Linked DNA regions of Homo sapiens: all the other regions are linked to region 6. Evidence: promoter capture Hi-C in 16 types of primary human blood cells and fetal thymus (Javierre and others, 2016). All regions are on one chromosome and are shown on one strand. The core of a region is centred on a gene start or on the middle of the fragment in contact, and the rest is flanking DNA. Distances in the headings are between cores, read along the strand shown. Region 1 overlaps DCDC2 (doublecortin domain containing 2). Region 2 has its middle 4.2 kb from the start of MRS2. Region 3 overlaps DCDC2 (doublecortin domain containing 2). Region 4 holds the start of ALDH5A1 (aldehyde dehydrogenase 5 family member A1). Region 5 overlaps DCDC2 (doublecortin domain containing 2). Region 6 holds the start of SOX4 (SRY-box transcription factor 4).

Evidence for each region. The method cuts DNA at HindIII sites, captures the fragments that hold promoters and counts their contacts. A CHiCAGO score of 5 or more calls a contact.
Region 1: a contact is called between a fragment that was not itself captured here and the fragment with the promoter of SOX4 in region 6, in 1 of 17 cell types (M0 macrophages). The highest score is 5.2, in M0 macrophages.
Region 2: a fragment that was not itself captured here is called in contact with the fragment with the promoter of SOX4 in region 6 in 1 of 17 cell types (M0 macrophages); the score reaches 5.1 in M0 macrophages.
Region 3: a contact is called between a fragment that was not itself captured here and the fragment with the promoter of SOX4 in region 6, in 1 of 17 cell types (M0 macrophages). The highest score is 6.4, in M0 macrophages.
Region 4: a contact is called between the fragment with the promoter of ALDH5A1 here and the fragment with the promoter of SOX4 in region 6, in 1 of 17 cell types (M0 macrophages). The highest score is 5.3, in M0 macrophages.
Region 5: a fragment that was not itself captured here is called in contact with the fragment with the promoter of SOX4 in region 6 in 1 of 17 cell types (M0 macrophages); the score reaches 6.6 in M0 macrophages.

Annotation. Positions count from the first base shown.
Region 1 is chr6:24,268,756-24,271,534 of GRCh38, forward strand. The region is part of intron 7 of DCDC2 (doublecortin domain containing 2); the gene reads right to left. Among named protein-coding and RNA genes, the nearest start is that of KAAG1, 87 kb to the right of the region's middle. The HindIII fragment of the contact is 285 bases long and covers 1,288-1,572 here.
Region 2 is chr6:24,397,375-24,400,153 of GRCh38, forward strand. No RefSeq gene overlaps it. Among named protein-coding and RNA genes, the nearest start is that of MRS2, 4.2 kb to the right of the region's middle. RefSeq lists an enhancer at 2,519-2,779. The HindIII fragment of the contact is 2,174 bases long and covers 389-2,562 here.
Region 3 is chr6:24,213,946-24,216,849 of GRCh38, forward strand. The region is part of intron 7 of DCDC2 (doublecortin domain containing 2); the gene reads right to left. Among named protein-coding and RNA genes, the nearest start is that of NRSN1, 89 kb to the left of the region's middle. The HindIII fragment of the contact is 2,965 bases long and covers 1-2,746 here.
Region 4 is chr6:24,493,442-24,496,461 of GRCh38, forward strand. ALDH5A1 (aldehyde dehydrogenase 5 family member A1) reads left to right here and starts at 1,528. Exons shown (of 10, transcript NM_001080.3): 1 at 1,528-1,909. The coding sequence starts at 1,556. It also overlaps a transcript of GPLD1 not described here. RefSeq lists a silencer at 1,534-1,923. The HindIII fragment of the contact is 3,166 bases long and covers 537-3,020 here.
Region 5 is chr6:24,195,341-24,198,549 of GRCh38, forward strand. The region is part of intron 8 of DCDC2 (doublecortin domain containing 2); the gene reads right to left. Among named protein-coding and RNA genes, the nearest start is that of NRSN1, 71 kb to the left of the region's middle. The HindIII fragment of the contact is 2,572 bases long and covers 1-2,571 here.
Region 6 is chr6:21,592,179-21,595,067 of GRCh38, forward strand. SOX4 (SRY-box transcription factor 4) reads left to right here and starts at 1,573. Exons shown (of 1, transcript NM_003107.3): 1 at 1,573-2,889. The coding sequence starts at 2,357. RefSeq lists a silencer at 2,184-2,363. The HindIII fragment of the contact is 853 bases long and covers 1,147-1,999 here.

The DNA.
Region 1 (2,779 bases), core at 180-2,679, 2.7 Mb after region 6:
GAGACAGGGTTTCACCATGCTGGCCAGGCTGGTCTTGAACCCCCGACCTCAGGTGATCCACCCATCTCGGCCTCCCAAAGTGCTGGGATTACAGGCATGAGCCACTGTGCCAGGCCACTTTATTATGTAATTTTAAAGGAAATAAAATCTTGCCCAGTTTCAAAGAAACAATTTGGTATTATCATCCAATTGTATAAAATAAGAATAAATGGGTAGCTTTAAACCTACAAAGCTCAAAGGTATTTTACAGATATTTTATCTTTATCTCCACTGTGATAGCACACTGCATGGTGATTTGCAATAAAGGTTATATCTTATTTTGAAAATAACTAGGGCAATAGAGAAGAATAAAAATAGAGTTCATATACAAAATAGGCCACAGACTACAAAGGAGTCCCAGGGTATCACATAAGTGAGGAAATACTCCTTCCCTGTCTCATAGTGCCAAGCAGTATTTAGTAATTGTCCCAGACATTGGACTAAATACATTTAAGTAGAAATGGCCTATGTTCTTTAGTAGTGTGCTGGTACTTTCTATAAGGACAAAATTAATACAGAGGTCTAAGAAATGACTCAATACCCAGAAGGAAAAAATGTCAATGCTTGCAACATAATTTGGCATTTAGGGATAGTGAATAAAGTCTGGTCATTGAAAGGGAAAAGGTAAATTGCATCTACTTAACCAAGGAAAATTTATTGATAAAGATATAATTATGACTATTGGAAGAAAATGTGTAAGTACTGAGCAATTAGAACAAAGAAGAGAAAATGAAATACTCTGGTGATTAGCAAGGGGTGGAGTACATGGTAGGGACTCAATAAATGTTCACTGAAAAATGAAAGTAGTGACCTAGGAAAGGGGATGGGGTTCCTAAGTCTAGAAAGTCATGAAACATGGGGAAGGAAATTCAGACACAGAGAAAGGCTTGGGTTGCAGAGCTTAAGTCCTAGAATGTTTAAGTAACTGTTTTAAAAAAGGGGATTTGATCATTTGATACAGAAACTAGAGGTCAGCCCCCAAAATATCTACCTTCTTCAAGGTCCCTAAACCCTAGAAAAGAGGGTCTAAATGCTGAAGGCAGTCCCCAGCTAAGATGTGTCAAAATAGAGAAGACCCATTATTACATCAGACTGCTAAAGAGAAAAACGGCTTGTTAGTAATGACTAACTCCGACCACCTAGAAAATAGAAGGGATGAAAATCAATCATCCCCATTTAAAAAGTTAATATGAAATAGTGGAGAGTAGAAGAAGAAACAAACAGGAACTCCCCAAAATCTCCCAGCTAAGCTTCAGGGTCTGCTGTGATACATCAACATTTTTATCACTGAAGGAAGACAGGTCAAAACACACACACGAGAGCTTCCCTCACTTGTCCCTCCACCTCCCCTTTCAAACAGTCACACAGGCACATCCACCTCTTAACCAGCAGCTATGTGTCAGTCTGGCAATTTCCAGAAATCACTAACCATTGATAGATCTTTGACTCTGGGCAAACTGGTTTCTCCTCTTTTCCCCCTCATTCACTAAGCTAGGAAAATGCTGTTTATCCATTCTAAGTATTTGTAAATGAAGCTTACAAAATATCAGATTAGAATGCACCATCAAGATGTTCTAAAGCATGGGTATCAGGAGTGTGCCATTACTCAATGCTTACAGTTTGCAGCCTTTAATTTCAATTGTCACCATAATATAGGTATAATTGACCTACATGCACACACACACATATATATCAACAAATACTGACCCTGTGCTGACTACTCTGTGCGGAATGCTCTGAACATTTATCTGTGTCCTTTACATGTGACCTATGGTCCAGGATCTGCTGATATTCTAAAGGACCGGGCCCTTTCCAGGTTTTATATCACCCCAGGCCTGACAAGGAAAACAGGGAGTTGAAGAGGGAGAAAGGGTAATAAACCCTATGGCTACATCTTCCTCCTCCCTCCACCCTGTCACCCTCTATGATAGGCATCTCACCAACATTCATGACATCAGACACCTCCCTAACCAAGCCCCCATGTGGCCCTTCCTCAGATTCCAGGATGAAATGCTCAGAGTGACCCAATTTCAGCTTCTTTCAGAAAAGCAGATAAATCATGCTTCAGTCTTTGGTATGCCAGAAACTCACCACTGGGGCGGATGCATATTTTATCTGTAGTAAGCTACAGAAAGGTTCAGACCTGGCAGGGCACAGTGGCTTACACCTGTAATCCCAGCACATTGGGAGGCCAAGGCAGGCAGATCACTTGAGCTTAGGAGTTTGAGACCAGCCTGGGCAACATGGTGAAACCCCGTCTCTATAAAAATACAAAAATTAGCCTTGTGTGGTGGCACCTGCCTGTAGTCCCAGCTACGTGGGAGGATCACTTGAGCCCAGGAGGTCAAGGCTGCAGTGAGCCAAGATGGTGCCACTGTACTCCAGCCTGGGTGACAGAGTGAGACACTCCCTCAAAAAAAAAAAAAAAAAAGAGAGAGAGAGAGAGAAAGAAAGAAAAAAAAGAAAAAAAGAGAAAGGTTCAACCTGACCTTGCAGGCAGCAGAATTAAGAAAAGGCTGTGAAACTTGTCAGAGCCCCTGGTAAGGCAAGAAGCAAAGAGGCCCTGCTTAGAAGTAATGGGTAGCATCTATGAAAAGGGAGGCAGGCAAGCCAAACTCTGGAGCTGGGGAAGAAATAAAGATGTGACAATCCCAAACTAATCCTCCTGCAGAGGATCACGCTAATAGAAGAACCTCCGCCCACACCTCAGTGTCCCCACCCGAGTAACTCCAGGTCTGGC
Region 2 (2,779 bases), core at 226-2,725, 2.8 Mb after region 6:
GGACAGCTTGGAGGTCAGAAGCAAGATGGAGTCAACTACATCAGATATCTCTTACTGTGATAATCTTTGCAAAGTGGTTTCACAGGTCCCTTTTCCTGTTACTCTATTAAAGCTGCTCCTATGAAGATCACCAATAAGTTCCATAGTGTCATGTCCAATATAGACAATTCTCATTTCTTATTTTACCCATCAGAAAATTTTGACATAACTTATCACTTCTTCATTCATGCAACAGTAGGGACCAAGAGAAACTTCCCCTTCAGCCACTGAAAGTTTGCTAAAAAAATCAACCCACAAAAGGCAGATTGATTGGAGACAAGGCAAATTGTATAAATGTGTACACAGGGAGAATCACAGGGTGATTACACAACCTCCAACAGGGTTAAGAAGCTTATATACCACCCTGGCAAAATAGGCTATGGGAGGGAGTAGAAGAGGAATTCTATTGAGGGGATTACTAGGGAGAATGAATGGATCAGGGAACAGAGATGAACATGAACATTACCCTGTCAAAGGGTGTGTTCAAGCATGGTTACATTCTTGGTTTTTCAGGGAGGAGAAGAGACAGTTGTTTCTTTTAATGGGTCTGGATCTTAGGTTAAAAAAAAACGTTAACTTCATCTTTGGAAGACTCAGTTGGCAGGGGGTGGTGCCAGCGAGACCTTGAGGCTTCTTCAGTTTAACATGTCAAAACATATTTTGGGGTAGCAGTTTCTGAACCCCAACTAAATAACTTTCTTTACTTGGCTTCTAGGATTCCACCCTCTGATTCTATTTCTTTCTTTGTCACTCCTCATACTCTTCTGCTGGATCTATCTCATCTTCTTAACAATTCAATATGAGAGGATCTAGAGCTCAATTGTATGATGACTTTTTCTCTGACTCACTTCTTGGGAGACTTTTTTTTTTTTTTGAGATGGAGTTTTGCTTTCCCCCAGGCTGGAGTGAAGTGGGGCAATCTTGGCCCACTGCAACCTCTGCCCCCCGGGTTCAAGCGATTCTCCTGCCTCAGCCTCCCGAGTAGCCAGGATTATAGGCGCCTGCCACCATACCCCAATAATTTTTATATTTTTAGTAGAGACGGGGTTTCGCCACGTTAGCCAGGCTGGTTTCAAACTCCAGACCTCAGGTGATCCACCAGCCTCGGACTCCCAAAGTGCTAGGATTACAGGGGTGAACCACTGTGCTCGGCCTTCTTGGGAGATCTCTTCCAATCTTGTGGCTTTAAATATTCTATACAGTCTCAAATGTAACTATCTATCTCCAACACCTTCCCTGAATTCCAGGCTGCTTACTTGACATCTACACTCAGATATCTGTCTAGGACATCTCTCGAAGTTAACATTCAAAACCAAATGCCATGCCATAGTTTTTGTTGTTCTTGTTTTTGTTGTTGTTCTTGTTGTTGTTGTTGAGACGGGAGTTTCACTCTTGTTGCCCAGGCTGGAGTGCAATAGTGCGATCTTGGCTCACCGCACCCTCCACCTCCGGGTTCAAGTGATTCTCCTGCCTCGGCCCCCTCAGTAGCTGGGATTACAGACATGCACCGCCACAGCCAGCTAATTTCGTATTTTTAGTAGAGATGGGGTTTCTCCACGTTGGTCAGGCTGGTCTCGATCTCCCAACCTCAGGTGATCCGCACACCTTGGCTTCCCAAAGTGCTGGGATTACAGGTTTGAGCCACAGTTTTCAATTAAAAACTTCTCCTTTCTGGCCAGGCATGGTGGCTCACGCCTGTAATCCCAGCACTTTGGGAGGCCAATGCGGGTGGATCACAAGGTCAGGAGATCGAGACCATCCTGGCTAACACGGTGAAACCCCATCTCTGCTAAAAATACAAAAAATTAGCTGGGCGTGGTGTCAGGCGCCTGTAGTCCCAGCTACTTGGGAGGCTGAGGCAGGAGAATGGCGTGAACCCGGGAGGCGGAGCTTGCAGTGAGCAGAGATCACACCACTGCACTCCAGTCTGGGCGACAGAGCGAGACTTCGTCACAAAAAACAAAACAAACAAAAAAAAAACTGCTCCTTTCCAAAATTCCCTATCTCAGTAAATAGCACCAGCAAGGCCCTGCTGTTCGGGATACACATTTTGGAGCAACATCTATGCCTCTCTTTCTCTTATATCCCATCTGCAAATGTTGTCAACTCAGCCTTCAATATATGGTACCAAGCCCAACTCATCTTCCCCTCTCCACCATCCCCACCTTAGCCCAAACCATCATCACCATCTCTCTGCTTCCAATTGCCTCTCTGTAGTCTCTTTCCCACACAGCAAGAGTGACCCATTTAAACATAAATCAGATTGTTACCTCTGCTCATTACCTCTCTGCTCGAAGTCCTCCAATGGTTCCCACCCTTCTCAGAAAAATCTTTGCCACGAATTACGAGGCTGTACGTCTGGACAGGTTCCAGAGTTTTCCTTAGACTTTGCAAAAGTTATCTTAGAGCTGTCTCATTGTGCTGGGTGCAAATTTTGTTTTAAAGAGAAAGTTATCACATATTTTCTCAAAGAAGCATCTCTGAAGGCATGTAATATGTTTGAAATACTTATCTCATCATTAAAGCTTTAGTAAAATGAAAAATCTACCAGCCATGTTCTCTATACTCAGCGATTTTCCAGACTTCAACGCCCTGGAAGCAATGATTAAAGTTTTTCTTTGCCTTCAATTATCTGAAGGGTTGGGCTGCCCCTCCACACCTGTGGGCATTTCTCATCAGGTAGAATGAGAGACTTGGAAAAGAAAGAGACACACAGACAAAGTATAGAGAAAGAAAAATG
Region 3 (2,904 bases), core at 14-2,513, 2.6 Mb after region 6:
CAATGATACAACCCAAATGTCCAAATTTTTTTAATCACTAATCTTCTCCACATGTCTTATTATGTCCCATCAGCTCAAATGGAAGCTCTTTACAGAAACAAGAATATCACAAGTCATATTTTTCTCTGGCAATTTTTAATAACACATAAAAATAATTTTATCCGCACATTTATATGGGCTAAGTATTCTTAACTGTAGTTTGAAATATTTGGCTTCTTTCTATTCTCCAACTCCCATTTCAGGGTATTAAATCTCATCTGTTATGCAATTGATGTATACATTTGACTATTAACTGTTTGCATAGAATTGATTTTAATCACCACAGTTATTTAACCTTAACTTTAAATAGGTGTAGCAAAATATTCTAAGTGTAGACAGAAAACAAAAGTAGGATTATTATCATTGATTTCCCAGATCACAGGTAATTTTGTTCTTATTCCTACACTTCTGTTATTTTTAGATACAGATATTTCAGATTCTCATGAAAATCAGAAATATTCAGAGTACAAAGAATAAAGCACATTATTTACAATATGTATAATAATGCTTATTTCCTAACCTATATAAATTATGATACAATTTCTAAAGTCTATATCTGATAAGTGGGACTGAAAATAATTAAGTACCTCTGAGTAGGTTTACCTAAACCAACAAGTGTATATATAGCTTTAATTCTTCATTTCTAATTTTGCATCCTTATAAAAATTACACTGCAAATTAGTTTTAGTTCATCAGAATAATTGAATTGTTCCTTTTTCCACCCCAGTGACTTGCAGTTACTTATTTGGCCTAAAATTGACAATTTCTCTTCTTAATTCTGGTTAGTCCAACTTCCTCCAAATGACCTTGTATCAGAAGAGTTAGCCATACTTCTATACGCTAGATTTATCATCATAACAAATGAAGTATCTGCCTGTAACAAAAACACATAGTACTGTTTTAAATTCCTTTAAAATTCTGTGTTCACTACTTCCTTATTATGCAATGTTTACTGAGCTTCCTCATGCTCCCACATGTGCTAGACACCAGCCACAGAAAGATGAACAAGGCACTGACCTCAGGATACGTATTATCTACCGGGGGGTCACATGGAAAAATCAACTGCACAGAATACGCATAGCATGCAAGTCTATGTAAGCTGTTAAGACAGTGCATAAAGTAGGAAAGAAAAAAAATGGGGAGAGGAGAACAAAGAAGGCTGTGAGAGACGGAAGCTACAAATCAAAAGACAAGACAAATTAGTCATTAAGGAGCAAAGGAAGGCACTCTGGACAGAAGAATCAGCATATGCAAAGGCTTGGAGGCATTGCAGGTTGTATTCCAAGAACTGCAGGCAGATCCGTGTGGCTGCAGCAAGGCTGTAGGGATAAGGAGTGGCTGGGTATAAGGCTGTCTGATGTGACCAAGAATTTGAACTTGATCATGAAGATAATGAAGAGCAACTAAGGGACTTTAAGCATGGAGTGGGGTGCATGGGGCTGAGGGAGCGTCCTGGAAACAGAGTTGCCTGGACAGAAGCAGGTGAAGATTCATGACAGGCTGTGTGGAGGGGGAGATCATGGAAAGTGTTATCACCCACAGCCACCTAGGACTGATATTGCTGAGGTGGAGATATCATGGCAGAGTGAGACCAGGCAAGACTGTAGAAAAGAATGCCTGAAACTGGGTCAGACTGAAGCCACCAAAGGCAATACATATTAAAATTGGAGATCAGTGAGGCTGGTAGCCAGGAGATTTCAAAGCAATGAAATGGGAAACAAAGCATGCCATGATGGGTCAGGACGCTCCGAAGCATAGGAGTCTGCATCAGCACCACTCCCGGCTGAGGGGGCGGCACTGCTTGGTGGAATCTCAGCACTGCTCTGCACACCGCAGGTCCTGGATGAAGGCAATGCCAGGATTAACAGAATGCAACAAGAGACATTGAATACTTGTATTGGCAGGACTCCGTGACTGCCAGGATGTGAGAGTTGAGGGAAACAGAAGAGCTGAAGAAGGACTCTCAGGTTTATGGCTTGGTTGTCTACATCGTTAACAGTGTTATTCATCAAGACTGGCCAGACGACAGAAGGAAGGGGATGGGGGTGGTTAGAAAGGAGGTGATGGGGTCTGATTTTGATATATTGGTTTGGGCCTCCTGTTAAGCATACTGATAGAAATGTCCAGCAAGTGGCTAGAAATGTAAGTCTGTTAATTAGAATAAAGTTCCAAGATAAAGATGTAGACTTGGGAACAGTCAGAATACCATTGATAAAGTCATGGGTTTCAGAACTTGGGGTGAAAATAGAAAATGGTTAGGGACAGAGTTCTAGGAAACAACATTTAAGGGATGGGCAGAAGAGAAACTCACAAAGATCGAAAAGAAATAGTAAAAGGTAACAGGAAAAAAAAAAGAGTAGGCTGTCAAGGAAGATGCGGGAAAGTGGAAGTCAACACCAAAGGAATAATCAGTATTAAAGTGTCCCGCCATTTGGGGATCCCCTTGATCTGGTCACCTAAGTAACAGTAATTATAGTACAGTATGAAAATCAGATTACACGGGGTTGTGGTATAAGAAAAGAGGTGAATTAGTGAAGACAAGCAGTACAGACGACTCTTTCAAGATGATTGGCTGTGAAGTAAAGAGAGACCATAGTCTTGTCAACCTAATTCAGAGGCCTGAGGCCATCAAGACAGTCAGGGATGAAAGGGGATTAAATCCCATCTCTTCTGACTCCTGCCTTTATCACAGATGTCAGCACCATAAAGCTTTTGCTAAACCTCTGTCTCTAATGCACAAGCATGTCTCATGAAATGCAAACATTTGTACAGAAATTTAAACAATTCCCATTCACTCATGGCCAAGTTAAACCGATAGAGATCATCTTCATTTGACAATATCAATGTAACCAGAATTGTACTTCA
Region 4 (3,020 bases), core at 278-2,777, 2.9 Mb after region 6:
CTCCACCCTGGGTGACAGAATGAGTCTGTCGGTCTCACAAGAACAAAACAAACAAAAAACAAAAACCACCACCAAAAACAAAACAAAACAAAAACAAAAACTCCCTCCGCAGGCAGGAGATGTAAACACGCCAGCTCCCCAGCCCCACCTGTGATACCTACTGGCCCACATCCCTATTAGGACTCCCTGGTTCTCCCCAGTTCCTGCAATAAAATACAGAGCAAAATAGTGTGAAATTGATTAAACTCTACTGTTATCACTTCTGCCATATGTGACTGGCTCAAAACTCAATGGATCTGACTCAGCAAAAGACAAAGTCAAAATTTAAAGTTACTGCCTCGGCATTTTGCAAATGTCCTAGAAAAAAATTCAACGTCCTAGAAAAAGGTGAAAGCTAGCAAGATACTCTCAACGCTGTAGGAGTTGAGAAAGGGAGATATGTAACCTAAAATCAATGCATAGGGCTGGGCTTCATTTGCACCCACAAATTCCCAGCATACGCCTGCTATTTTTATTTTTATCCTCATTAGGTTTTAAGCTTCCCTGCTGCTTTCAGAGTCTTAAGCCCAAGTCTAATTTTTTAACGGATGAAGAATGCTGTTTAAAGGTGCTCAAATACCTTGGTTGGATAGTATGCTCAATCCTTATACCTTGGTTGATTCAATTTTGACAAATGCTTCCATTTACTAGTTGGTGACCCAACTTTAATCTTACTAGTGGCTTGACTAGGGTAGCTAGTATGACTTTGAACGCTATATTGAATTTAATGTGGCAACTGTAATGAGCATTTTACGTTATCTCACAACAAAATGGGGTAGATATGGTTCTATTTTATAAGTGACTGGACTAAGGTTAACCTGTCGGTCACACAGCTTGTCGGCAACAGACTTGAGTTTGGATCCTAGTCTGTTTATTTCCAAAGCGCTGTTATTTATCGGGAGCAACCCTAGGAGAATGCCTAGACACACACCCAAAAAAGCAGCCAGGCAGCAGAACGCGGGGTCACACTTCGACCCCTCAGAGAACGATCGCTCCCAATCAATACTACGTGCTCAGGAGCTACAACTGAAGAAGCGTGATCACGGCCTTGGCATTTAGGGCAGGCACCAGCGCATCTATGGACCGCGCACAAATTCCGGGGATGCCGAATTTGGGGGATGCTAAGGGGAGAGAGTGGGTCTCTAGCAGCGATTGGGGGCTCAGGAGCAGTTAGTGACAAATGAGCACCCGAAAAGTGAAAAGGTGACAGCAGTCCGCAGGTGCATCTACTGGCGAGCCTTCTCCATCCCCGAACCCAACCCTCCCCCGGGAGAAGGTCGCGCCAGGAGAGAAGCCGCGCGGCGCTTAGGGCAAGGTGCAGAGGGCGGCGCGGCGGTGCAGCGAGAAAGACGCGGAGAGAGGGCGCTGCTCTGTGGCTCTGCAACCTTCCGCCAGCTCCCACGCTTTCCCCGCGCGTCCCCGGCGCCTCCTCGCTCCTCTTGCTTCCCCGCGACCCCTGCGTTCCCGTGCGCGCGCGCCCGCTTGCCTGTTTCCTGTCGCCGTCGTTGCCCGGGCCATGGCGACCTGCATTTGGCTGCGGAGCTGTGGGGCCCGGCGCCTCGGGTCGACGTTTCCAGGCTGCCGCCTCCGCCCCCGCGCCGGCGGCCTGGTCCCTGCCTCCGGGCCTGCGCCCGGCCCGGCCCAGCTCCGCTGCTACGCTGGGCGCCTGGCGGGCCTCTCTGCGGCGCTGCTGCGCACCGACAGCTTCGTGGGCGGCCGCTGGCTCCCGGCCGCCGCCACCTTCCCCGTGCAAGACCCGGCCAGCGGCGCCGCTCTGGGCATGGTAGCCGACTGCGGGGTGCGAGAGGCCCGCGCCGCCGTGCGCGCTGCCTACGAGGCTTTCTGCCGCTGGAGGGAGGTCTCCGCCAAGGTGAGAGAGCCCGGATGCAGGGGGCCAGAGCTGGCCGGGGACACGGCGGGGAGCAGAGGGGGCTTTACCCCAAAGTGACACCAGCCGCGTCGCCTCCCTCCTGTGCTCAGTTCCCCAGGGTATACAAAGTGGAAAGTCAGAGCAACAAGGGAGACGACCGACAAATAAGTTTGGAGCTTCCACTTTGAGCCGGGCACTAGGGACACGACCCCTGCCCTCAAGCCTCATCAAGTTATGCACTGCCCAGTAGGGGAGGCAGAACGTGAGCGCCTAATACAAGCGAGCTGCTTGTTATGGTCAACAAGCCTAACCGTGGAGGGGCGGGGAGAAAGGGGAGGGGTGTCAGGGAAGTGAGAGCACGTGTGGCCCTTCAGAGTAGCTGAAATATCTCCGCAGCTGCAGGGAGCCCACGCAGGAGGCTGCTTCAGCGGCCCTTGAGAAGGCTGGTAGTGAGGGCCCCTGGCCAGAATCATGGGATCGGAAACGGAGAGAACTGTAGAAAGATTTGGGTTTTGTGCAGGGGAAGAGAGAAATCCAGGAGCGTTCTCCAGGTTTTCACCCTAAATGGATAAATGCTGCTATTGGCCATTGCATAGAGAACACTGGAGAATTGGGAGTAAGGGGTGGAGGGCCATTAAATGGGAAGAATAGAGTAAGAAGAAAACTAAGAAAGTAGTTTCTTCCTTCTAATATTATATTATTAAACCTGGAGTCAACGCAGTGAAATTTTTTACCGTGTCCTTCAAAGCTCTCCCTCTGAAGGAATGCATCCAGCGATCCCTACGAGTACAAGAGAGTCTTAGCACTCATTCATCCATCAGCTGTTTACTGAGCACCTGCTGTATGCCCTGCACTGTTGGAGGTGCTTGGGATACCTCAGTTAAACGAAAGAAGGATTCTGCCCTTATGGAGCTCACATGGGGTGGAAGGGGAGCAGAAGAGAGATCAGAACTCTAAACAACAAACATAATATCTAAGCAAATAAGTATGTGAGAGATGCTGAGTGCAATATGGAAAAAAGGTAGAAGCAGGAGAGGATCCGGGCCAGAGGGAAGGGGCAAGATGCAGCATCAACAGTGTGACCAGGCATATTCCTCTGCTAGGGCTGCCA
Region 5 (3,209 bases), core at 36-2,535, 2.6 Mb after region 6:
GCTTAGGGAACCCAAACTCTTTTTTTCAAATATTGTTATTATAGTAAAATACATATTACATAAAATTTACCATTTTAACCACTCTTAAGTGTACAAATCAATGGGATTAAATCTTTCACAATGGGAAGTAAACTTGCCTGACCTTTGCACCATAGGGAGACATTGTCTTTATCATACTGGACAATAAAGAAACCCAGCCTTTGTCCCAGAACAGAGTTTCCCAATCTCAGCTCTACTGACATTCTGGGCTGCAGAATTTTTTGTTGTGAAGACTGTCATGTGCATTACAAGATAATTAGGAGCAGCCCTGGCCACCACCTTCTAGATGCCCATAGCACTCCCCCAGTTGTTACACCAAAAGTGGTCCCAGAAATCACCATATATCCCTTTGGAGGCAAAATCACCACAAGTTGAGAATGATTGTTCTGGAAGACATCACTCTCTCTGTCTTCCAAGGCCATTCACTATACAAACATACCTAAAGAGATGGTCCAGAACAAAGGCCAGCAGTGCCTCTGCTCACAAGATGGGCAGAATCACAACAGACCCATGGAGAATTGCCTCCCAATGAAAGCAAAGACTTCTAAAACTTAATCTGCTTCTCAAGAATGGATAAATAACTTGGCCAATTTGCACAAGATACTTACATATAGACATATACACACACACAGGCACATACAACTTCCTTCTTCAAGGCCCTCTGACTAAAATTACAACACAGATCATTTAGATGACAGGAAAACAGTCCAAAGACATTAACTAGCTAATGGCCTTAGAGAGAGTGTATTTAAGTATCTTTTCTAGCTAAGACAAGTAGTATACCATGACTATATTTCCTTTCTTAATTAGGATTTTTTTTTTCCTTTCTGGGTTAATAATTGGCTTTTTTTTTTTATGCAATACTCTCTCCTCAGATCACTTGTCTGCCTTTAAGTTGGATAGACAGCATTTAAGTCCCATTTCCTCTAATTAACATGGTACAGCCTTGAGCAAATAATTTCACCTCATGAGCTCACTTCCTTTGTGTATTTATAGATAGGTAGATAGATAAGTAGGTAGATAGAATAAGACTGATAAGACTTATCCAGTTTCTTTTTTGAGACAGAGTCTCGCTGTGTCACCCACACTACAGTGAGGTGGCATGATCTCTGCTCACTGCAACCTCCGCCTCCCAGATTCCAGCAGTTCTCATGCCTCAGCCTCCCGATTATCTGGAATTACAGGTGCCTGTCACCACACCTGGTTAATTTTTTGTATTTTCAGTAGAGACCAGGTTTCACCGTGTTGGCCAGGCTGGTCTCGAACACTCCTGACTTTAGGTGATCCAGACCACCTCAGCCTCCCAGAATGCTGGGATTACAGGCATGAGCTACCACACCCAGCTCCAATAAGACCTATCTGACAGGGTTGTTTTCATAATTAAACGAAAGAAATAAAAATCCTTAGTCCAGTGCCTGGCACTCAGTAGTTACTTAATCAATGGTAGCTATTGTTTAATGCAGATCACCATTGTGGGCTGTTGCAGAGTTGGTCTTACTATAATGAAACTAATGGGCTTTCAACGAATTTCTCCACACTTTTAGTTTTCCATATTTATAATATAGCTGCTTAGGATGTAAACGTCAGCAGACCATAGAGAATGGCTGTAACCTGACTTCATAAGCACCTCGTATCGAACAAATAAACTAGGCAATCCCAATGTTATGACCAAGAGAGTCCAAGAAGAAAGTACCTTTGGTTACCTGGCTTTGGTTTCTTCAAGCACATACCAATTTGTTGATATTGCCCAGCTTTTACCAATCTGTTTCTCAGTATCTCCTGCATACCTGCATTTTGATAAGCTAGCACTCACAAGTTAAATAAGAAATCAAGCCCTGCAGATGCATCCAAGGCTGTTCGAGCATTATCAGAGATCAATTTTCCCTCCCAACTCCCCTTCCTGAGGATCATCGAATGTCAAAGTAAAGAAATATCTCACAGATTTGCAAGTTGTTAAATAAGTGATTAACAGAGAGATTTCTCCTTTGCTAATAAGGCTATGATTTTCTCTTAATATTTGACATTTTGACTTTGGAATATAAATTAGTCTTGGTTTCTGCAGCTATCAGGTGTTGTATATACATGATGATCACTCTTCTTTGTCTTAAAATATACTATTTAATTATGGCTTCACAGAAGACTTAAAGTTTCACTTTCCCTCAGGAAAAAATACCTATAACTGGAGTTTATGAAAAATTATTAGTTATAGCTAATCCTGGATAATAAATTGGATTTTTGAAATCTGCGTGATTTTTACCACGTTAGGCTTTTCATCAGGAAGACGACACTTGCAGAAAATGCCTGTGGAATCATCAAGCAGCAATTTCACTGCTGCACTGTTAAGACAAATACAATTGAGAAGATCATCTATGGAATTTGTCAGATGGTGAAATCTGCTTTTAGAAAAAAAATATCATATAGTAGTCAGAGGACAAGTGGTAGTTCCTAGTGACTTCTCCCCTTTCCTGAGTCTGGGATTATCATTTCCCCCTCCTCACCTAAACTCCAATCCTCCACTTAGAATTGTAAGGAAGCTTGATGTATTATATTAAAAAGCATAGCTGACTTTTATTTCTTCCATCATTTAGAGAAAATTAACACTACTTAGTCCATTCTATAAGCACATGTGAGTACGTATATACTCACACACACACACAACTCCTAGAAGTACAGTGTTCTACTGGCCTAAGAAAGAAAATCAATACACACAAAGCAAATATTTGACTTACATTTATACAGGCAATTCCTTTATGAAAAACAAATTCCAACCAAAACAATCTCAAGGACCCTAAAGGCAAGAATATACTGGCATTTTAAAAAAATGCTTTTCTGAAGATGGCCAAATAGGAACAGCTCTGGTTTGCAGCTCCCAGTGAGATCAACACAGAAGGCCAGTGATTTCTGCATTCCCAACTGAGGTACCCGGCTCATCTCATTGGGACTGGTTAGACAGTGGGTGCAGCCCACAGAAGGCGAGCTGAAGCAGGGTGGGGGGCACTGCCTCACTCAGGAAGCACAAGGGGTTGGGGAACTCACTCCCCTAGCCAAGGGAAGCCCTGAGGGACTGTGTCACGAGGAATGGTGCATTCCAGCCCGGATGCTACATTTTCCCCACAGTCTTTGTGACCCGCAGACCAGGAGATTCCCTCAGGTGCCTACACCACCAAGGC
Region 6 (2,889 bases), core at 323-2,822:
CCAGCTAATTTTTTAATTTTTTAATTTTTAGTAGAGACAGGGTTTCACCATGTTGACCAGGCTGGTCTCGAACTCCTGACCTGAAGTGATCCACCCACCTTAGCCTCCCAAAGTGCTGGGATTACAGGCGTGAGCCACCGCGTCCTGCCTGTTATTACTTTTTTACATAAGTGGCTATTCTGTTTTAGCCTCTTGAACAACATGCAGCTTTTACTAGGAGTGTGTCTGGCATTTGAATTAGAAAGGAAGATATTAGTATTCATTGAGGGCTTACAATACATCAGGTGCTTCATAGTCACAAATTCATTGAACCCTCACAACAACCCTCTATAAAGTAGCTCCTAGTGTTCCCATATAATAGATGAGGAAAACTGAGACTTGGCCACATCCCCATAGTTACAAACCATTAAGAAGGATTAGCAGCCAGGTCTACTATGAATCCGGAGGCCCCATTCTCTTCTGCTACCAGTTATCACCTCCTTCTACAGTTTCTCTTTGCCTTGGTTTTTCAGTTCCCTTCGATTCAAGTAACAAGAGGAAATATATAAGAAGGAAAGGAGGAAGATGGCTTTGGGAGGAGGAGAGGGAAGAGAGTGAAGCAATCTTTAATTTTGAAAACAGGGAAAACAAATATTTAGAAAGTAAAACCGATTTCCATCCTTTACATGCCATTATACATCCTATACAAAACTCTGGAAATCTGCCTATTGAGGTAATTACGGAGCACTACCTAATGTGTTTCAAGGGAAAGCTCCCCTGTTTGGGCTATGCAGGATTTACAGGGAGTTTAAATCATTAAATAACCATAGTTGACCCTTGCTTGGTTAAGAGAGTAAGCAATTATTGCAAAGTCCTCTTCCCTGCCTTCCACAAACAGCACAAAAACGGTTCTGAAGGGATTTACACAATACATCAACATCTGTGCTGTACCTAGAGTTGTTAAAATAATTGTGATGACAGGTGTCTAGGTACCACTTTCTTAATGGTTTTCAATATCCATTGATTTATTGTTTTGTGGCTTTCTCTTCCCCTTTACAGCTTTGGCTTTAAGAAAGAGCTGGGGAACAGATTTTGCACCAGAGGCTGATTCTTTATTCCAATGCTGAAAAGAACTAATAAAAATAATCACTTGGCTTTTAAGCAGAAAGCTTCCATTTACAGTATTTCACCCTTACCCCGCCCCGTTCCAAGCCCCTTGTTATCTAACATAATGGTTAGAATACATTTCCGTCTCTCCCCTTAATAATTTCATGCATTAACATCCTCTTCACACACTATACACACACGCACGCGCGCACACACACGCGCGCGCACACACACAGCAAAAGGAAAAAAGAGGCAGCAGAAATCTCAGCTGTACTTCTAGCCCTTTTAAAAAGTTTGCTCTGTAAATTGGAATGAGGTCAGATTTGGAGCTTCTCATTGCACGCGGAGATTATTATTGCATCGGGTTCCAAGCCAATGGGAAGCCCGGGGGAGGGGTTTGGCATGAGGAAGCGTTGGTTACAGCAGCTGATTGGCTGCAGCCAAGACTGTGAAAGGATAAAGAGGCGCGAGGCGGAATTGGGGTCTGCTCTAAGCTGCAGCAAGAGAAACTGTGTGTGAGGGGAAGAGGCCTGTTTCGCTGTCGGGTCTCTAGTTCTTGCACGCTCTTTAAGAGTCTGCACTGGAGGAACTCCTGCCATTACCAGCTCCCTTCTTGCAGAAGGGAGGGGGAAACATACATTTATTCATGCCAGTCTGTTGCATGCAGGCTTTTTGGCTTCCTACCTTGCAACAAAATAATTGCACCAACTCCTTAGTGCCGATTCCGCCCACAGAGAGTCCTGGAGCCACAGTCTTTTTTGCTTTGCATTGTAGGAGAGGGACTAAGTGCTAGAGACTATGTCGCTTTCCTGAGCTACCGAGAGCGCTCGTGAACTGGAATCAACTGCTTCAGGGAAAAAGAAAAAAAAAAAAAAAAGACTTGCCTGGGAGGCCGCGAGAAACTTGCATTGGAAGCTTCAGCAACCAGCATTCGAGAAACTCCTCTCTACTTTAGCACGGTCTCCAGACTCAGCCGAGAGACAGCAAACTGCAGCGCGGTGAGAGAGCGAGAGAGAGGGAGAGAGAGACTCTCCAGCCTGGGAACTATAACTCCTCTGCGAGAGGCGGAGAACTCCTTCCCCAAATCTTTTGGGGACTTTTCTCTCTTTACCCACCTCCGCCCCTGCGAGGAGTTGAGGGGCCAGTTCGGCCGCCGCGCGCGTCTTCCCGTTCGGCGTGTGCTTGGCCCGGGGAACCGGGAGGGCCCGGCGATCGCGCGGCGGCCGCCGCGAGGGTGTGAGCGCGCGTGGGCGCCCGCCGAGCCGAGGCCATGGTGCAGCAAACCAACAATGCCGAGAACACGGAAGCGCTGCTGGCCGGCGAGAGCTCGGACTCGGGCGCCGGCCTCGAGCTGGGAATCGCCTCCTCCCCCACGCCCGGCTCCACCGCCTCCACGGGCGGCAAGGCCGACGACCCGAGCTGGTGCAAGACCCCGAGTGGGCACATCAAGCGACCCATGAACGCCTTCATGGTGTGGTCGCAGATCGAGCGGCGCAAGATCATGGAGCAGTCGCCCGACATGCACAACGCCGAGATCTCCAAGCGGCTGGGCAAACGCTGGAAGCTGCTCAAAGACAGCGACAAGATCCCTTTCATTCGAGAGGCGGAGCGGCTGCGCCTCAAGCACATGGCTGACTACCCCGACTACAAGTACCGGCCCAGGAAGAAGGTGAAGTCCGGCAACGCCAACTCCAGCTCCTCGGCCGCCGCCTCCTCCAAGCCGGGGGAGAAGGGAGACAAGGTCGGTGGCAGTGGCGGGGGCGGCCATGGGGGCGGCGGCGGCGGCGGGAGCAGCAACGCGGG